4 separate regions of the Homo sapiens genome follow, and regions 1, 2 and 3 are each linked to region 4. The links are contacts of gene promoters, found by promoter capture Hi-C in human tissues and cell types (Jung and others, 2019). All regions are on one chromosome and are shown on one strand. Each heading gives the region's core, a stretch centred on a gene start or on the middle of the fragment in contact. The rest is flanking DNA. Distances are from core to core; before and after follow the strand shown.

Evidence for each region. The method cuts DNA at HindIII sites, captures the fragments that hold promoters and counts their contacts. A contact is called where the count stands out against the background at its distance.
Region 1: a fragment that was not itself captured here is called in contact with the fragment with the promoter of CDH26 in region 4 in 1 of the 25 tissues and cell types used here (stomach).
Region 2: a contact is called between a fragment that was not itself captured here and the fragment with the promoter of CDH26 in region 4, in 1 of the 25 tissues and cell types used here (pancreas).
Region 3: a fragment that was not itself captured here is called in contact with the fragment with the promoter of CDH26 in region 4 in 2 of the 25 tissues and cell types used here (IMR-90 fibroblasts and lymphoblastoid cells).

What each region holds. Positions count from the first base shown.
Region 1 is chr20:59,893,171-59,897,866 of GRCh38, forward strand. It overlaps SYCP2 (synaptonemal complex protein 2), which reads right to left. Exons shown (of 45, transcript NM_014258.4): 19 at 3,259-3,358; 20 at 2,267-2,427; 21 at 354-423; 22 at 1-29. Among named protein-coding and RNA genes, the nearest start is that of SYCP2, 38 kb to the right of the region's middle. The HindIII fragment of the contact is 4,586 bases long and covers 1,154-4,696 here.
Region 2 is chr20:59,991,029-59,996,217 of GRCh38, forward strand. It overlaps CDH26 (cadherin 26), which reads left to right. Exons shown (of 18, transcript NM_177980.4): 10 at 1,350-1,492; 11 at 3,222-3,461; 12 at 4,805-5,026. Among named protein-coding and RNA genes, the nearest start is that of CDH26, 35 kb to the left of the region's middle. RefSeq lists an enhancer at 3,204-3,736. The HindIII fragment of the contact is 6,002 bases long and covers 1-5,189 here.
Region 3 is chr20:59,911,728-59,916,560 of GRCh38, forward strand. SYCP2 (synaptonemal complex protein 2) reads right to left here. Exons shown (of 45, transcript NM_014258.4): 8 at 4,759-4,833; 9 at 3,738-3,823; 10 at 3,438-3,472; 11 at 2,382-2,524; 12 at 2,248-2,300; 13 at 646-691; 14 at 23-118. Among named protein-coding and RNA genes, the nearest start is that of SYCP2, 19 kb to the right of the region's middle. The HindIII fragment of the contact is 4,718 bases long and covers 255-4,833 here.
Region 4 is chr20:59,955,256-59,959,881 of GRCh38, forward strand. It overlaps CDH26 (cadherin 26), which reads left to right and starts at 3,168. Exons shown (of 18, transcript NM_177980.4): 1 at 3,168-3,540. The coding sequence starts at 3,472. The HindIII fragment of the contact is 5,804 bases long and covers 113-4,626 here.

The DNA.
Region 1 (4,696 bases), core at 2,197-4,696, 62 kb before region 4:
TGAATCTGGTATAACATCCTGGAGTTCACCTAAATAAAACAAATATTATAATATTTTCATTTTTTTCATGCAGTTGGCAGGGGGATAGGGAGGTTAGTATAGAAATCTATAAAGGTTCACATATTGGGATGAACGGATTGATCGATTTTGCATCCTCTCTCTTAAACCCAAACTTCTGGGGAACAAAGGTGGTATATTTCCTTGTAACCTCAAAAATTCCTTGCACAAAGTCAAACAAATTCTTTGTAAATCTTTTTCAAATCAATGAAAGCCAGTGGGGTTAAATGGTAATACAGGGAGAAGTATATACATTTTCTTAAAAAAATGACTAAATTAAACCACAAGGTACTTACTAAAATTTTGGTTTGGGAATTCAACATTCTTATTTTCTGTGTTTTCTACACACTTAGCAGTTTTGATATGCTGTAAACACAGGAAACAGGTTAACGTAAACTTAAGATGTTATATGAAAACCTAAATGTTACAGTATTAAGGTTTGAGTCTTTTAAAACAAATCTGCCTTGATATGAAAAGTTGGATACTATTTTTATATATTTCATAAACGTTATGCCCGTTTTTGAATATTCCCTATCCTGAAACACAAGAAGAAAACTGTCACTGCAGACGAGGCAGAATATTGCATAAATTTTCTGATCACATCCATAGCTAGCATAATAATTCAGTTTTCATCTGTAACTGACAATTTCTAGACTCTCCATGAGGAATCTCTCCTGCTGCTGTTGATTACATAGCCTGCTTTATCTATTTTGATATGGTCCATTCTTTCTTTCTTATATTTCACTTTTCCTGTTTCTTCAGAATTATCATCAGATATCGAAGAGGACGATTTTTGTTTAGCTAAGTTTTTTATTTATAACAATATCTATTGCATTACCCAGGTAACTTCTTTCCTACAGCAAGCTTCCCTATTTCCATAGCCAAAGATAACACTTAATCCAGATCAAATACAAATCTGCCACTATTATCAGAAAAATATTCCCTTTAGTCTAAGCTATTTTGCCTCATCCTGGCTGCCTTTCCTTCTTACTCTAGCCAGTGATTCTCCACACTAGGAGGGGAACATTATGGAAATATGCAGGTGTGGTTTGGGTTGTCACAATGACAGAGGGGTTCTCCTGACAATAGGTAAGCACAATCCTAGCTAGGATGCTTATCATCCTACAACATTTAGGACCATGTCGCACAACTGAAAAATAATCCCCTTATTAAGAAACACTTAGACAACTTGAACCATTACTTTGACTATTTTCTTTTAATATCTTCAACTCTCATACCCTTTATCTTTCTACCACATACCCATTTAAATTAAAAAAATAGAATCCATCATCTGTTCTCATCTTACTATTAACACCAAGACTACTAAGCTTTGAGAAAATTGTACATATTTATGAACATATTTATGCTATAAAATTCATAGTCATATTTAAACTGGGTCAACATTGTCTAACACTTATTCTTAGGCCTCTCCATTACCTTGCACATAGCTTTACATGTCCCTGAACCCTGTACTTCAACAGATCTCCAGGAGAAACTCACCATCTTCACACTTCAGAAAAAACAAAAGCTATTAGATGTTCCTCCTTTACAAGCTTATCTGCATCGCTGATCACCTCCTGTTTCTCCAAGAAACTATTCTCTCTTATCCATTCCTGCTTTGTCTTTTCAACTACCTGGAACAAATGCCCTTCTCCTCAATATCCATTTGACTCTTTATTGACCTTTCAAAAGTCAATTCATTCTCCATATTTTCTTAAAAAGCATCTCCTGATCTTCACCCTCACCTCTAGCTATGGGGTTAGGCACTTGACCCTCTAACTTGGTTCCTACTGCATCCTATATGTGTAAATCTGAGAATGCTTATGTAACTTAGTATCTAATTTTCATGCTAAATTTTGAGAAACTTAAGGACACAGTCCACTTGTACTTCGCATTCCTATACCAGAGTCTTCCCCATAGTAGTCACCAATTTGTATAATCAACTAAATAATTATGGCAGGTTCATTTATGCTCCCAAATGTGTAAATCAAGTTATAGTGAATTAATATTCATAACTTTTATTGTAAGCACAGTAAATGAGTCATATGCCAGAAGGACCCTACTTTCAAGGGCAATAAATATTTAGGGGAAAAAAGGTAATGCTTTAAACAAAATGAGACACTTGCAGCTTGCAAAAGGAGTTAGCTCAATACATATTTCCACAATTACTTGAAAAAATATTTTTAAAATACTTTCAAGGTAAAGTTACTTTGTCTATATTATCTCTTCTATGTCTTCCTTCTGATGATCTAGATTTCAGTGATGCAGCATTATCCACTCTATTTTCTGATGTTTGAGAAACACTAGGTTTCTCTGCAGAGCTCGTCATTTGCAGTGGTGGTTTAATTCTTCTTCTTCGTGGTGGTATTGCTAAAAAGGAGGACAAGGATTGCAGATTTTTCTTTTTTTACCTATTGCTATTATTGAGGTACTTTTCCAATGAGAAAGGTAAGAAACGAACATTCTTAGATGGTTCCCAGGTTTCTGGCTTAGATAATTAAGTGAATATAGATGCCATCTACCAAGATAATAAGTGAAGGAAAAATTTGCAGGAAGGGTGGAAAGATTAATTTAATTTTGGACCTATTACATTTGGGGAGCCTGTCAGATACTAAGCAATTGGCCAGTAGGCAACAAGATTTTTAGAACAGAAGGTCAATGTTAAGTTGTCATATAGACTAAGACTTTAACTAGTACACAGTATCAGGTTTTTTAAAACTTTTATTTAGCTCTTAGTATGTATCAGGCACTGTTTAAAGTTTCACTAGGTAACTTATTAAATGAGTGATTTTTATTTAATCCTCTAAACAACTTGATAAGATAGATACTTAAGTGCCACTTATAGAAAAAAAAACTGGTTCTAAATTTAGCTAGAGGATATCTGTACAAAGTACACAGCTGGAAGTGGGGAGCTAAGTCCACCTGGCCTGGTTAATTCAGTGTTTTAACCAGTAAGATATGCTGTGTCCTGCTTAAATTATAATAAATTATTAATGTCGAATATTAGTATTTTCAACACTGTTCTGTTCATATGTTAGCATTATACTTTTCTTCCCATTAGAAGACATTTGTGGTTCATATTTTATCAATTTTTATACACCAAACTTATCCTTTATGTAAATTATGTTCAGAATTGCCTTAAATTAAAAAATGCCTCCTTTAAAATAATTGTTAGAAATCTTTTAAAACTATAAAACTTACATGTGTTGCTGAAAAGCACTGGACTTCTCATAGTGTATCTATCTGCACCAGAAACAATCATTGATGCTTCAGACATTTTTCTTTTGCTAGGAGTAGTTTTCTGAAACCACGATGAAAAACAACCACTGTAAACACAGTCTTTTTGAAATTAAATATCCTACAATTTTACTTATAACATTTTGCCTTGATACATGCCAAAGATATATGTTTTTTAAATAAACAACACAATATTCATAAATTTCCATGTTTTAGGCTGATATGAAAGGTTCATCTTCATGTTTGGTATTAAATAAGTAGCTAAAACAAGTAAGGAACATTGTTTTAAAGAATATTTATAGAATATCCATGCCTATGAAGTACAGTACCTTTATATGCTAGCTGAAAATATTTTATCAATATTGAGTTTATCTAGTTAACCATAGCTTGCAATTTCCTATTCTATATCATGAGGATAATGTTTGGATTACATATTTATATGAAATTATTTTGAGTGCTTTCATGTTAAGCTTTCTTCAAAACATTCACACATTTTTGAAAATTGTACTAATAATCTGTGAAGACTAAACTGGAGTGAAGTAGCTGCAGGAATTCATAGATTCAGTGGCACATAATCTAGTGGTTCCAATAAAGATTTGTTTTCTCCCATATCATCTCACACTAATTTATAAGAGGGACAGAAGTAGATAAGCAGAGGCAGGGACTACAAGAGACAGGAGTTTCAGAGGATGCCATATTAAGAAGTAGATGGTGACATACTGCATAGAGGCATAAAAGAGCTGGTTTTAAGGCACCTGTCCCTAGAACAGGGGAAAAAATGATACAGTTGTGAGTGGGTATGTATATGAAACGTGAGGGAAGGATGGAAAGGATAAGATAAAAGAAAATTCTAAGATTAACTAGAAAACAAGCTTCTGAGCCAACAGATTTTTCTTAGAGAAATTAAGTTTTTAGTGGCATAGTGAATGGAACCTGAACAGTTACTTATTCATATAAATGCCTCAAACAGTTCATCCTTATTGAAAACAGAGCACAGGTATTTAACAGTAGTATGGTGTTTTTCGAACTTTGGTGTGCTTAAGACCTTTCCAAGAGTTTAAGATTCAACAGATTTAAGGTGGGGCTAAGAATCAGCATTGTTAATAAGCACCCAACATGATTCTGATATAAAGACACCAAAAATAGCTTTCATGTGCTAATTATCTCGGGGAAATAAATGACACTTTTAATTGAGAACAAAAGACTAAAAAACAAAATAGTAACATAAACATGCCAAAATATATGGAAGTGCCTGTGAGAGTTATAGTTACGTAAAGGTGAGAGATTAGTAAAAACTGAAATAATCAGGCAAAGCTCCACGAAGAAATCAAAAAATGGGCCGGGTGCAGTGGCTCATGCCTGTAATCCCAGCACTTTGGGAGGCCGAGAAGGGCAGATCACC
Region 2 (5,189 bases), core at 1,009-3,508, 35 kb after region 4:
CTGGCTAATTTTTGTAATTTTAGTAGAGACGGGGTTTTGCCATGTTGGCCAGGCTGGTTTCCAACCCACCCATAGAATTTGATTGAGAGGTCTGGGGTCAGGACTGAGATTTGCATTTCTAAGAAGCTCCCAAGGGTGCCCATGATGCTGGCTGGGGATCCCTTTAGGCACCACCAACAGGAGCCTTTCCTAATTCATTGCTGTCTTCCTGTCTCTTGAGGATGGTTGGCTCATACTTAGGTCTCAGGAAATGTTTGGACTGTGCTGAAATCAAGAACTAACAGTCCATCATTTTAGCCTCAATATGGCTTTTTCCAGGAGGCAGGATGAGTGTCTTTTGTGACAGGGTGGAGGCATGATCTGGGTTGGGGGCAGCTTTGGTTTCCTCTAGTTCTGCTTCATCTGCATTAGCTGAGGGAGCTGCCTTTTGGCCTGAGATAATCCACAGAGGAACTCTGAGTTTCTTCCCCTCGTTTGTAAACATTGCAAAATCACAGTGCTTCTAAGGAACTTCTGGAACTTTCCCTAAGAGGTGAAGCAGTGCACAAAAAGCTTCAATCCCTTTAAAAACTGTGACCCACGCAACATGAGAGAGGGATCCTTGCTGACCCTTTGAAAAACATTTGCCCAGAAGATGAAGGAAAAGCATAAGGAGAAACTGCCCCTCTCCGCACCTTTCTGGGACCTGCACTTTTTGTTGTTGTTGTTGTTTGCCTGAGTCCAGGAGGTTCCTGCTGCGGTGCCCTCAACAGGTAGCTGGGGTGGCAACCTGGCAAGGTTGCAAAGGATGCAATCCAATGGCTGACAGCTCTCAGGAATGCTGGAGGGCTTGGCGTGGCCCACCCCTTACAGTGGTGTCAGGTTCACATAGGTGAGGGGGATGTAGAAGACCACTTTGAGGAATAGGGTTACCCAACTGTGAACTGCCAGGGCTCTGCTGCAAAGGGAACACACCAGGGGTAAAGTCCTAGGTTTCTGTTGCAAGGGCAGGTTGGTTTTTCACACTAAGCTAACATCATCTACAGGCCACTGAAGATGGGTTCCTTTCCAGGATGAATCATCTCCCCAAGGCAGACAAAACTATGTTCAGTCCAACAAGGAGGGGGACGCTTGGTCTTCTGGTGAATGTCAATTCCACAGACCTAGGAGAGTCTTTAGGCTGTCCTCCCTGTGCTTCCATTCCTTTCGTGAATTAAACACTCTCGTAGTTTAATTGCTCTTAGAATTTCTCAAATTACTTGTGGTAGAAATAGTGTTTCTATGACATATTTTGTTTTTTTATGCAACTTTTTTATCTTTTAATGTAAGTTTTTAATTTTAAAAATTGCTGTCCGTTTTCCTTCTACAAGATATGAACTGGTTCATGACCCAGCAAATTGGGTCAGCGTCGACAAAAACTCCGGAGTGGTCATCACCGTGGAGCCAATTGACCGAGAATCCCCTCATGTAAATAACAGTTTTTATGTAATCATCATTCACGCTGTTGATGATGGTGAGTGTTTACCCAAAATTGGAAAAATAAAATGCTCATTCTTGCTTCCTGCGGGAAAATAACCCTGGTGAGCGTCTTTCAGCACAGCAGAGAAAAGGATAAAATAAACCTTGTTATCACTCTGCATCCATGCTGGTGATTATTTTTGGTAATAATTCTTAAAATGGTAAACAAGGGACCAATACCATCGAAAGAGGGCAGTATTCATTCAGAAGAGACAATTAAACCAGCAAGGAGGCTGCAATCAAACCCAGCATCTTTTTCATCTGTTCATGAGCTAACTCTTTAGCTCTTTGTCAAAGCCAATGATGTGTGATAAATATTTAGCACAGCTTCCCTGTGCTTGGGATGGCATACGAGCTCAGATAAATGGGACTGTAAGGGACACATTTGTCATAAACCAGAATGGGTGGTTTTATAAGCCTGTTTCAGCATTTTTCTCTACACTCTCCTAAGGCTGAAACTTTAAACACACCAAAGCAGAGTTGAAGAAATAAAAATGTTCAAATAACTTTAAAATTGTATTTAAGAAAGTCTGTGAACTAAAACCCAAGCTCCAAGTGATATATCACTATACGTTCCATTCTGTAATTAACTAGTGGAATGTTGGCGGGGGGCAATGGAGATATGAAACACGTGTTCCTAATCAGCATTAAGGGAGGAGAAAAAATGGGGCCAGTGTTTCAGGGTTCCGTCATTCTGTTATGGATGATTTTATGATTGGTACTTTTTTTTTCCTTTATTTTTTGCTTTTTGTATTTCAAAAGCTTTTGGGGTACAAGTGGTTTTTGGTTACGTAGATGAATTATGCAGTGGTGAAGTCTAAGATTTTAGTGCACTGGTCACCTGAGTAGAGTACCTTGTATCCAATGTGAGATTTCTTAGCCCTTGGCTCCCTCCTCCCCTGCTTCTGGGTCTCCAGAGTTCATGATATCACTCATGCCTTTGTGTATCCATAGCTTAGCTCCCACTTATAAGTGAGAACATACAGTATTTGATTTTCTATTCCTGAGTTATTCACTTAGAAGAATGGCCTCCAGCTCTATTCAAGTGTCTGCAAAAAAACATGATTTCATTCTTTTTTATGGCTGAGTAGTATTCCATAGTATACATATGCCACATTTTCTTTATCCACTCATTGGTCGATGGGCATTTAGGTTGGCTCCATATATTTGCAGTTATGAAGTGATGATTGCCACTTTTTTGAATTAGAAAAAGTCGTTTTAGATAATTGTAGATTCACTTGCAGTTTTAAGAAATAATCTAGTGGATCCTGAGTATCCTTTGCCAGTTTTCCCCAGGGGCAACACCTTGCAGGACTACAGTGTAACCTTGTAACCAGTACATCAACGCGGAGACGCAGCGCATTTGCCTCCCCTTGGGGACCCCCATGGTGCCCTTCTTTAGTCACACCCATTTTCCTCCACCCCACCCATCCTTGATGCCTGGCACCATTGATTGACCTTTTGTTTTTTTAATGAAGCCACATTCTACCTTGTTCTACAAGTGATTTGAGGTGGTAAGTGCTTTATTAGCTTACCCAAATATTCTGAATGCTCATAAAAGCAGGAAAACAGATCACGTGCATGCCAGGAGAGCTTATGACGTTGAAAGGGAAACAGTTCCAGTATTTCAGGAATATTTTTTTTCTGAGAGACGGAGAGTGCTCATTCTCCAGAGCTGTGTGTGCACGAGATAAACAACTCCTGAAACTTCCTCCCCATACAAGGCTTCCCACCGCAGACTGCTACAGGGACCCTAATGCTCTTCCTGTCTGACATCAATGACAACGTCCCGACTCTCCGGCCACGTTCCCGCTACATGGAGGTCTGTGAGTCTGCTGTGCATGAGCCCCTCCACATCGAGGCAGAGGATCCGGACCTGGAGCCGTTCTCTGACCCATTTACATTTGAATTGGACAATACCTGGGGAAATGCGGAGGACACATGGAAGTTGGGGAGAAATTGGGGTGAGTTTTTGTATTGGTTACGGGCAAAGAGTGGAAAATGCCAGATATCCAATTCAAACAGATTTAGGCAAAAAAGGACTTTATTAGCTTAAAAAACCGGAGAGGTCTGCGTTCTGGCAGAGCTGGCTCTAGGTGCTCAAAGGATATCCCTGGATATCCTTCCCACACATGGTCTGCCTTTCTCTAGGTTCCTTCTTTTTTAGGAAACTCTCCTCATCAGGGGGTAGGAGGCTGCTGGGAGTCCCTGAGACATATTCTTGCATCTGGCAAGAAGGGTGTTTCCAGGGAAGCTCCAGGATTGACGTCACTGTTTGGCCTGGGTCAGCTGCCCTGTCAATCACTGTGGGTGGGACTTGGGAGGGCGGATGTGCTGATTGGCTGGTTCCCAGCCCACACCTGGACCTTGTTGGGATCTGGGCTCACCCTCTCCTGATTCATACTGAGAATTCAGGAAGTGTGGGCTTCCCTAAGGAAACACTGGGGCACTGTTACCAGAAGATGAACATGCTGAGCAGGTTAAAAGCAACTGGCATCCACTGTCAACACTCTCTTCTGTGCCTCTAGCCGTGGCGTCTGTAGACTGTGGCACGGTTTCAGCTGAAACTGTGTGCTCAAGTTTGTAGTTCTCAGACCTGGAGTGTGTGGTAAAGCACTTCGCCTTGCCCAAAGAGAGGTCTGGTCTTTGTCCTTGGGGTCTGGGTGATCTCTATTGGGGTATCATGTCTGACACCAGTGTCTCTTTACCTGGGGTGTCTTGGGCTGAGCCGGATAGGGGCAATGTGATTTACACTGGGGACTTCTGGTCACATAGTATCAGTCTATTACCAGAGAGGCTGGAGACTGAGGCCGCCCACCTGGGAGGCCCACCAGGTTGCCTGACCAAGCCCCAGGAGGACACTGGAGCCTGAGGCTCAGGTGAACGTCCCTGACTGCAGCATCCCATGTGTGCTGTCCCTCATCGATGCTGACCTGGCTTCTCGGGAGTGGATGATGAGAAGCTCTGCTACTGGTGCTTTTCTGGACTCTGCCCTAGGTGCCTCTTTCCTTGTGTGATTTACGTCTGTATCTTTTCCCTGTAAAAAACGGCACCATCACTGTAACAACTTTCAGTGTGTTCTGTGAGTCTTTCTAGAGAATTGTTGAACCTGAGGGTGGTCTTAGGAATCCGTGAACTTGCAGTTGATGTCAGAAGTGAGGGTACCCTTGAGGACCCCTCCCTCTAACTCTGCAGTTGGCTTACTTTCATACAGAGCTTGGCCCGTGCAGGGCGTTCAGTAAGCGTGTGTTGAGCAGATGAGCAGATGAGTGAGTCAATGCATGCCATGTTCTTTTTCCCTTTGCAGGTCAATCAGTTGAACTTTTAACCTTGAGAAGCCTGCCACGTGGTAATTACTTGGTGCCACTCTTCATTGGAGACAAACAGGGACTTTCCCAGAAGCAAACTGTCCATGTAAGGATCTGCCCCTGTGCCAGTGGGCTCACATGTGTGGAGCTTGCAGATGCAGAAGTGGGGCTTCATGTGGGGGCCCTGTTCCCTGTCTGTGCAGCATTTGTGGCTCTGGCAGGTCAGTGGTCTGTAGGGGTGTCCTGGGACTGTGGCTCCTCTCCCCAGGCAATAGGCCAGGGGTAAGGGGCTTGCTGGGGTAGGGGACAGCGGTGGCAGGATTGGTGGAATGGCTTTGAGAATGACTTCTGGGTGTACTCAGGCTCCTAGATGTAGATCAGAGG
Region 3 (4,833 bases), core at 1,364-3,863, 44 kb before region 4:
ATACCAACCAAATTAAACTTACATCATTATCTCCAGCAATGTAGAATGAGAGAGTCTGACTCCCAAGATTAAAATCAATCCAAAATTCCTCAAGTTTTTCATCTGATGGTATTTGCAGCTAATAAAATAAACATACAAAACTGGAATATACAATGATTTTAGAAATAACAGACAATTATGATGTTATATTCATGGCTAAAGCAAGAAAACAAAGCTAGAAGGAGAGAGAAGAGAAAGAACAGACAAGTATAATATTTAGATAAATTTAAAAACAATCAAATGAAATGCTACTTTAATATTTTATAAAAAATCAACTAGCTCCAAGAAATTATGAATATTCCAAGTGCTAATAAAGGTTGAAAGTACTAGTTTGAATAGATTCATACATGATAAATCAATAATGGTCTTAAGGAAACACGAGAAAAACTGGACTACAGCCTTTATTTTTCAGTTATTCTTGGCAATGAATATGCTGTTCCATAAAACTTCTCCTGGTTTCACTGTCAGATACAGAATACTAGACCAGCTACATTCATGATCTAATTACAACTATTTTTAGTGTTCTTATTCATTTTTAACTCATAATTCACTTGACTATCAAAATTCATGCAATAACTAAAATAATGTGTTAAATTAAAATTTTACCTCATATTTATCAAGAAATGCTGATAAACAAGGAAATGTAAAGACCCTGAAATAAAAAGTAGTTTAAGAAAAAAATAAATAAGCTTTCACAGCATAATCTTGTCCAGTAATAGAAATCATGCCTAGAATCAAAAGGAAATCAGGCAGTGGTCATAATAATTGAAATAAAATCATATTTCCCTCTTTAATACTTTTCAAAATACATGTTTAGTGGACATTTATGTAGAGAAAATCATATTACTTTGACAATACTACTCAATCTACCATTCTGACTAAAATGATTGCACCAAATGTTTTTGTGTGTGATATGGTTTGGTTCTGTGTCCCCACCCAAATCTCGTCTTGAATGGTACTGTCATAATTCCCATGTGTTGTGTGAGGGACCTGGTAGGAGATAACAGAATCATGAGGGCAGTTTCTCCCACACTGTTCTTGCGGTAGTGAGTAACTCTCACGAGATCTGATGGTTTTATCAGGGGTTTCCCCTTTTGCATCTTCCTCATTCTTTCTTTGCCTGCTGCTATCCACGTAAGATGGGACTTGCTCCTCCTTGCCTTCTGCCATGATAGTGAGGCTTCCCCAGCCACATGGAACTTTAAGTCCAATTAAATCTCTTTCTTTTTTAAATGTCTCAGTCTCCAGTATGTCTTTATCAGCAGTATTAAAACAGACTAATACAGTGTGCTATCAAATATGAGCAGAGTTTCCTAACTTAGCTTATTGTTTCCATAGAACTTAAATAAGAATACAAGTGAATAATTACATTAAAAATGGTTAAATTCACAGAATTCTTTCTTAGATACTATTTTACATAGTTAGCATATTATCTCATTTTAATCTATATCACAAACATATGAGGTAGTTATTAATATAACAGCTAAGGAAACTGAGGCATGTAAGGTTAAATAATTTGCCCAATATTAGAACAGGAAGAGAGGAACTTATGATTCAAATCAGGTAATATGACTCCTTGCACAACCCTTACAATACCGTTAATTTCTTTAGTAAGTAAAATAAATGTGAACTCATTCATCCAATAATTATGTTGAACATCTATGAGGTGCTAGGCATTGCAAATTCTGTTTTTCTGTCGTTATAAAAAAAAGATTAAAATTTATATTACACATCCTTTCATGCCCCTCAGAAAGATCCTACTTACTGTATGTTAATTATAAAGGAAGATGATTTGTTTGCTATATATTTACATTCCAGTATGTGGATGAAGGAGATGATTCAAGTAATAAATATGTCTAGATTTTTATTATCCCTCAAACATTAAATAATAATGGATATGCAACTCAGAAGTATAGTAAGCCAATTTTGAACATCTAAAGTTATTAATTAATATGAATTAAACAGAAATGAACTTTTCCCTCTAAAAAGTACAAAATAAAACAAGGCCAGTGCAGAATTATTTCAGATTACTGGTGTAGTAATTTGCTAAAATCATGTTATTGTTTTAAATTATCTATGCACATTCTACACTCCAACATAGTGTAGAGAACAAGAATAAAGTTAAATGTATAAAGATGCAACACTGGGTGCTCACTCTTGAGCTCTATTTATTTGACAGTAAATGGTTGTATCTTGCATTAAGTTTACCTTCTTTTGTCTCCAAGCATGCCATTTACAAGGTTGAGAAATATCCTGCAATCCTAATTTTAAAGAGAAATACTTTTAAAAATCATAATAATTTTTAAAAATTCACGAATTTCTGTTATTGTTATACAACTTACTGTTTCAAATTCAGAGTCCTTAATTCTTTTAAATGCCTTAGCAATAAAATCCATTGAAAACCACTGATGTGCCAGTTCTTGTCTTTGTTTTTCTGTGGTCATTCTACACAAAGCTTCTACAATGCCTACCTGTAAGTCATAATCTATTAAAAAAATAGTTAATGTTTGATTTACAATTATGAAAATTAAGTTTATAAAAGACCATATATTTTACAAGGTATTAGAATAAGCAAGAGAAATAAGAATATATTAATGTAATTGATTAATCTATTAATATTTTCTTCATATGGATTAGAAATATCTCATCATTTGAGGAATTAACACAGCCCAAATAACAAGTGTGCCAACAGAAGAAATAAGTAAAATTTAAAAAAATGTTGAGACTTCTAAATATTCAAAGACACTGCCATTTCATTATTATTAGAGATATAAAATGCAAAGTAACCCACACAGTTGTCTGTAAGTTACAAAGTCTGTTTTCCTCTTGTGTAACATGTTTACAGTTATCCCAGAGTACTTTAAACCATGATTTATTCTACATGTAAATCACCATATTAAAATTCATTCACAAAAAGCTTAGAAAATAAATTTTAAGTTATTTTAATAAACACATTGTTTAAAAACAAATCCATCAATATGAAGAATATTAGACACCCTAATTTCATAAAAAAATCTGAGGAATTTCTTAGCACAAGTAGTTCAGGTCTACTGAAAAATTAAGCCATTATATTAAGCTATTATATTAATCTATTAATTTAAGCTTTATTAATTAAGCTATTATATTAAGCTATTAAATTAAGCTATTAATTTAAGCTATTAAGCTATATTATTCATAAGTCTACCATTAGGCACAAATTGTATGTATCTAACGCCTACTGTCATAAATTATTTTTGTCCCAGACAAATTTCATGTATATTTATTAAAAATTGCTTAATTGTACATAATGTTTATAATTCCCTCAGTCTCACATTGCTATGCTAATATTTAAATTAAAAAGATACTATCTGCTATTCATAAATATGGAATAATTTTAGATTTGGAAAAGACATACTTACCTCCAGCATCTAAAATCCTTTCTCCCATACTACTCCTGTGAATTAAAATAACAGATTACAAAATAGACCAGTATCAATTAAATAGGAAGTCCACATGTTTAGGAGGAAAAGAAACTTCACAAAAATTTACAATTGGCTAATATCATCGACTTTTGCAGAAATTATATGCATACACTAAATTATATTAAAAAGCTGCAACAGTTTATCAGTTTCATTATTAATGCAAACTCATAGTTGTCTGTCTTATAAAACATTCTTATGGATTTTAAGAATAAAAACCATATAAGTACAGATTATTACATGAGAATTAACATTTCTTGGTTAGAGAGTATTTTCCGGGCATCTTGAGGCATTTTGTCAAGCATAGCATTCATTTTTTTTATAATCTAGAAAAGAAAAAAAGATAATGCATTAACTTTACATTCAGTGAAACACTATTAAGAGAAATATTCTAGGCACATAAACTTAGAAGCCTAATTTTTTCTTAATCACTGAGTTTTATTATGGGAATGGAGTAGGATGGAGGAAAGAATATATAAAGTATAAAATAGGCCAGGCATGGTGGCTCACTATAATACCAGCACTTTGGGAGGCCAAGGCGGGCGGATCACTTGATGTCAGGAGTTCGAGATCAGCCTGGCCAACATAGTGAAACCCCGTCTCTACCAAAAATACAAAAATTAGCTGGGCATGGTAACACGTGCCTGTAATCCCAGCTACTCGGAAGGGAGGCAGGAGAAGCGCTTGAACCTGGGAGGCAGAGGTTGCAGTGAGCTGAGATTGCGCCACTGCACTCCAGCCTAGGCAGATAGAGCAAGACTCTCTCAAAAAAATAAAAATAATAAAGTATAAAATAATGAATATAAAAACAACATAAACTATAGAATATCAAAAATAGAATATAACATGACTCCGATACTTAAAGCACTTGTACTTTTTGCAATAAAACTTGTATTTATTTTAACTCCATTATAAGATCTGAGGAAGCCAAAAAATGTTACTTTATTTTGTTCTTATGATTATAGTACATGTACACACATACATATACTAATACAGATTATTTTTAGCATTTAAATACTTAAGCACCCCAAAAATCTGGTTGGTATAATTTATTTCCACTTGAGCTATATGCACACATAAACCCATATGGTTATAAATTTTCAGTAAGTATTTCGGAAATATGTCAGGCAATAGATTATGATAGAAATATACTCCAAGCTAAGTAATTTTGTCCTACATGAAATAAATTGTCAATTTAATTGCTATTGATTTTCTTCACGTTCTCATTTTTAGTTTTTAAAACACAAATAAATGACTTTACCTCTTGCTGAATACAAATATTCACTCTTGAGTCAATAACCAGGGAACAAATGCGAGGTACGAAACTTTCCACTAC
Region 4 (4,626 bases), core at 1,918-4,417:
GTGGCTGGGGGCACTCCTCAAAAACATGAGAAGGTTGACCCTGGGTAGGTAATTGTAGCTCATACCTCCCTTGCAATCAAGTAACTTTTATCTCATGAGCAATCTCATTTCTTCACTTGTCAGCTTACAGGGAGCTGGGAGCTGCCACCATGTGGCTATAAAGTATTACTGTACTTCCAAGGACACAGAAAGGAGCGCTAGACTATTGTCACTATGATCACATGCTCAGAATAGAAAGGGAGTGGGGACATCTTCAAGCTCAGGCTCACCCAAGATGTGCAGCAGGTGATGCCCAGAATCACCAGCTGAGTTCCAGGCCCCGTGGCCTACCCAAGTAGGGTTGCCGTGTGGGGAACTGGCATTCTGCTTAGTTATTTTAAACGCTTGAGAATGTTGAAAACTTGTTTGTTTCTAATATATTAAAATACCAGTTCCTATGGTGTTTTTTGTTTTGTTTTGTTTTGAGATGGAGTTTCACTCTTGTTGCCTAAGGCTGGAGTGCAATGATGTGATCTCAGCTCACTGCAACCTCCGCCTCCCGGGTTCAAGGGATTCCCCTGCCTCAGCCTCCGGAGTAGTTGGGATTACAGGTGTGTGCCACCATGCCCGGCTAATTTTAAAATACCAATTTCTTTTAAACTTAAAACGAATGTGAAAGTGGAATCCTTCACTGTTGTCCCCCAGCTCCGCCCAGACTAGAACATTGTGAGGCTAATGCCTTTCTAGCAACAATATTTTAGTCCCCAGCGCTATTCTAGCAGCAGGGAGTGCTCAACTGACGTGGTTTTTTCACATATATTTAACATGGTTTAGCTCACCTGACTTATATATTCTAAATTAGTGATTCTAACTTAATCAGTTTTTTAAAAATAGGCTATCATTATAGAAATATCCACTTTGAAAATAGGCACAAGGTATTCAGTTTCTCTTTATGCACAGGAAATATCTATAGACTTTAAAGTTGTATTTATTATTCTTTTCAATAATAAGCTATTAATTTCAATAAAAATAAACTATTCAAATTAAAATATTCAGCAGCATCTCAGAGCTATGAATGTTCAGTTAAGCAAAGAAAGTTTTTTTTTTTTAATTGGGAGATTTTTATTTTATATTTTATTTTTGATGAGTTCTTTTTTATTTTTATTTTTTAATTTTATTTTTCCATAAGTTATTGGGGTACAGGTGGCATATTGGTTACATGAGTAAGTTTTTCAGTGGAGATTTGTGAGATCCTGGTGCACCCATCACCCAAGCAGTATACACTGCACCATATTTGTTGTCTTTTATCCCTCACCCTCTTCCCACTCTTCCCCCCAATTCCCCAAAGTCCATTGTATGATTCTTATGCCTTTGTGTCCTCATAGCTTAGCTCCCACAAATCAGTGAGAATATACAATGTTTGATTTTCCATTCCTGAGTTACTTCATTTAGAATAATAGTCTCCAATCTCATCCAGGTCACTGCAAATGCTGTTAATTCATTCCTTTTTATGGCTGAGTAGTATTCCATCATATATATCTGTATATACACATATATATACATATATATGTGTATATATATGTGTATGTATATATATACATATATGTGTGTATATATGTGTATGTATATATATACATATATGTGTGTATATATGTATGTATATATGTGTATATATGTACATACACATATATACACATATATGTGTATATATACATATATGCGTGTATATATGTACATACACATATATACACACATATATGTGTATATATGTACATACACATATATACACGCATATATGTGTATATATACATATAGATACGCATATACACATTTTCTTTATCCACTAGTTGATTGATGGGCATTTGGGTTGGTTCCACGATTTTGCAATTGTGAATTTTGCTGCTATAAACGTGCATGTGCAAGTATCTTTTTCGAATAATGACTTCTTTTCCTCTGGGAAGATACCCAGTAGTGGGATTGCTGGATCAAATGGTAGTTCTACTTTTGTTCTTTAAGGAATCTCCACACTGTTTTCCATAGCAGCTGTACTATGTTATATTCCCCCCAGCAGTGTAGAAGTGTTCCCTGATTGTCACATCCACACCAACGTCTACTGTTTTTTGATTTTTTGATTATGGTCATTCTTGCAGGAGTAAGGTGGTATCGCACTGCGGTTTTGATTTGCGTTTTGCTGATCATTGGTGATGTTGAGCATTTTTTCATATGCTTGTTGACCATTTGTATATCTTCTTTTGAGAATTGTCTATTCATGTCCTTATCCCACTTTTTGATGGGATTGTTTTTTTCTTACTGATTTGTTGGAGTTCATTGTGGATTCTGGATATTAATCCTTTGTCAGATGTATAGATTGTGAAGATTTTCTCCCACTCTGTGGGTTGTCTGTTTACTCTGCTGACTGTTCCTTTTGCAGTGCAAAAGCTCTTTAGTTTAATTAGGTCCCAGCTATTTATCTTTGATTTTATTGCATTTGCTTTTTGGTTCTTGGTCATGAAATCCTTGCCTAAGCCAATATCTAGAACAAGCAAAGAAAGTTTACCTTTTATTTTATCTGTTTACTACTTTAAACAAGGTAATGTGATAAAAAGGTCATGTTAAGGTAATCAGGGTTAATGTATCACAGATTGTGTTTTAAAACTTGCTTACTGCAACCTTAAGTATTGGTATAATATAATCTCAAATTGTCTCTTTCAGAATTCTCATGCAAAGACTCCCGGGTTGCCACAGAGATCCCTGTCCATAGGGAGGCTCTTTCCCATCTCTCCTCCCTCCCACTTTAATTCCAAACTCAAAAAGGCAGATTAATCTAAGCTTAAAAAAGGTTTTAGTAGAAATAATTTGAAAACCCCAGAGCCCTGGGATATTGTTGGAATAACGATTTTTAGTGCTTTGGAAAGTAAAAGTTGATTTTTCTTTTCTTTCATTCTTCCCCATCCCTTCCCCCTTAATAAAGTTATCATTCTTGTCATTTTCTAGTTTTTTTTGTTTGGTTCAAGAGGATAAGATTATAGAAAATAGTCACTAACATATCCTGCTATAGAAAGAGATGATTGGACCTTCTATTTGGAAACCAGAACAAACAAGGAAACAAAGAAACAAATAATTCTGCTTTCCGATAGGTGCTGGTTTTACTTCCGCTGGCTGAGCTGTTGTTCCTGAGGTCAGACCCCAGCCAGTCTTTTGTGTACGTGCAGGACCATGGTGGCTTTAGTTTCTACCCCACCCTTCCTAGGAACTCTACTTGTGGCAAACGTATGTTCAAGCTTACAAGTCAGCCCACCCCACTCTGATAAATGCAAGAAAAGCTGAAAAGGGAGGAGCAAGATGGGATGAAAGCATCTGGGCCAAAGTGACCTGAAAACCTTTAGAGAAGAAGCTGCTGGCTGAGAAGGAGGTGTGTGGCTCCGGTGAGACCACCAGCTTGGAGGACTGGTCATCAGCTGCACGTTCTGGGTCTGTCTTGGGTATTCCCATATGGCCATGAGATCCGGGAGGCACCCCTCGCTGCTGCTGCTTCTAGTGCTGCTGCTGTGGCTGCTGCAGGTAAGCTGAGCCTGCAGCCTAGTGCTCAGGTGCAGGGAACTGAAAGCAAAGCACAAGCTGGCCCTGCCCCTTCTAGGCTAAGGGAGGGGAGAGGGACTGAGTGTGACCTGCTGGGACCCAGGGCTGGCTGTCTTGAGAATGGCTTAGGTAGCAGGGGCTCTGGATTTATATAAAGGGAAGTTAAGGGTCCCAGTCTGTTTGGGGCAACAGTGGGAGCAGGCTAAGGGACCTGTTTAAAACTAATTTATATAGTTCACACTATTTTTAGTGAGATTACATCAACACACACGTGTTTTCTTTCTTTGTTTCTTTCTCCTTTTGTTGAGACAGGGTCTGGCTTCATCATCCAGGCTGGAGTGCAGTGGCATGATCAAGGCTCACTGCAGCTTTAACCTCCCAGGCTCAGGTGATCCTTCCACCTCAGCCTCAAGAGTAGCTGGGACTACAGTAACTTACCACCACGCTGGCTAATTTCTGTATTTTTTATAGAGATGGATTTTCACCATGTTGCCCAGGCTGGTCTCGAACTCCTAAGCTCAAGTGATTTATTCGCCTTGCCCTTCCGAAGTGTTGGGTTTACAGGCATGAGCCACCTCACCCAGCCAACACACACAATTTTTTTTTTTTTTTGAGACAGGGTCTCGTCATCCAGGCTACAGTGCGTGGTGACATCTCAGTGCACCGCAACCTCCTCCTACTGGGTTCAAGCAACCTCCTGGCTCAGCCTCCCGAGTACTGGGACTACAGGTGCACGCCACCATGCCCGGCTAGTTTTTGTATTTTTATTAGAGACAGGGTTTCACCATGTTGGCCAGGCTGGTCTCAAACTCCTGACCTCAAGTGATCTGCCTGCCTCAGCCTCCCAAAGTGTTAGGATGACAGGCTTGAGACACTGCGCCCTGCCAAGTTTTATAATGATACTTCTGTTCACACTTTACATAAGATTGAGGAAATCTCAGTTGTCTGGATCCAAGGCAATTTGAGCAAACCCATGGGGATGGAATGGCTAAATCCATTGCCCCCAACTGCCACTGTTTAAATGGGAATACAAACTAGTGGAGTCAGGATTCGAAACACATGGGCTTG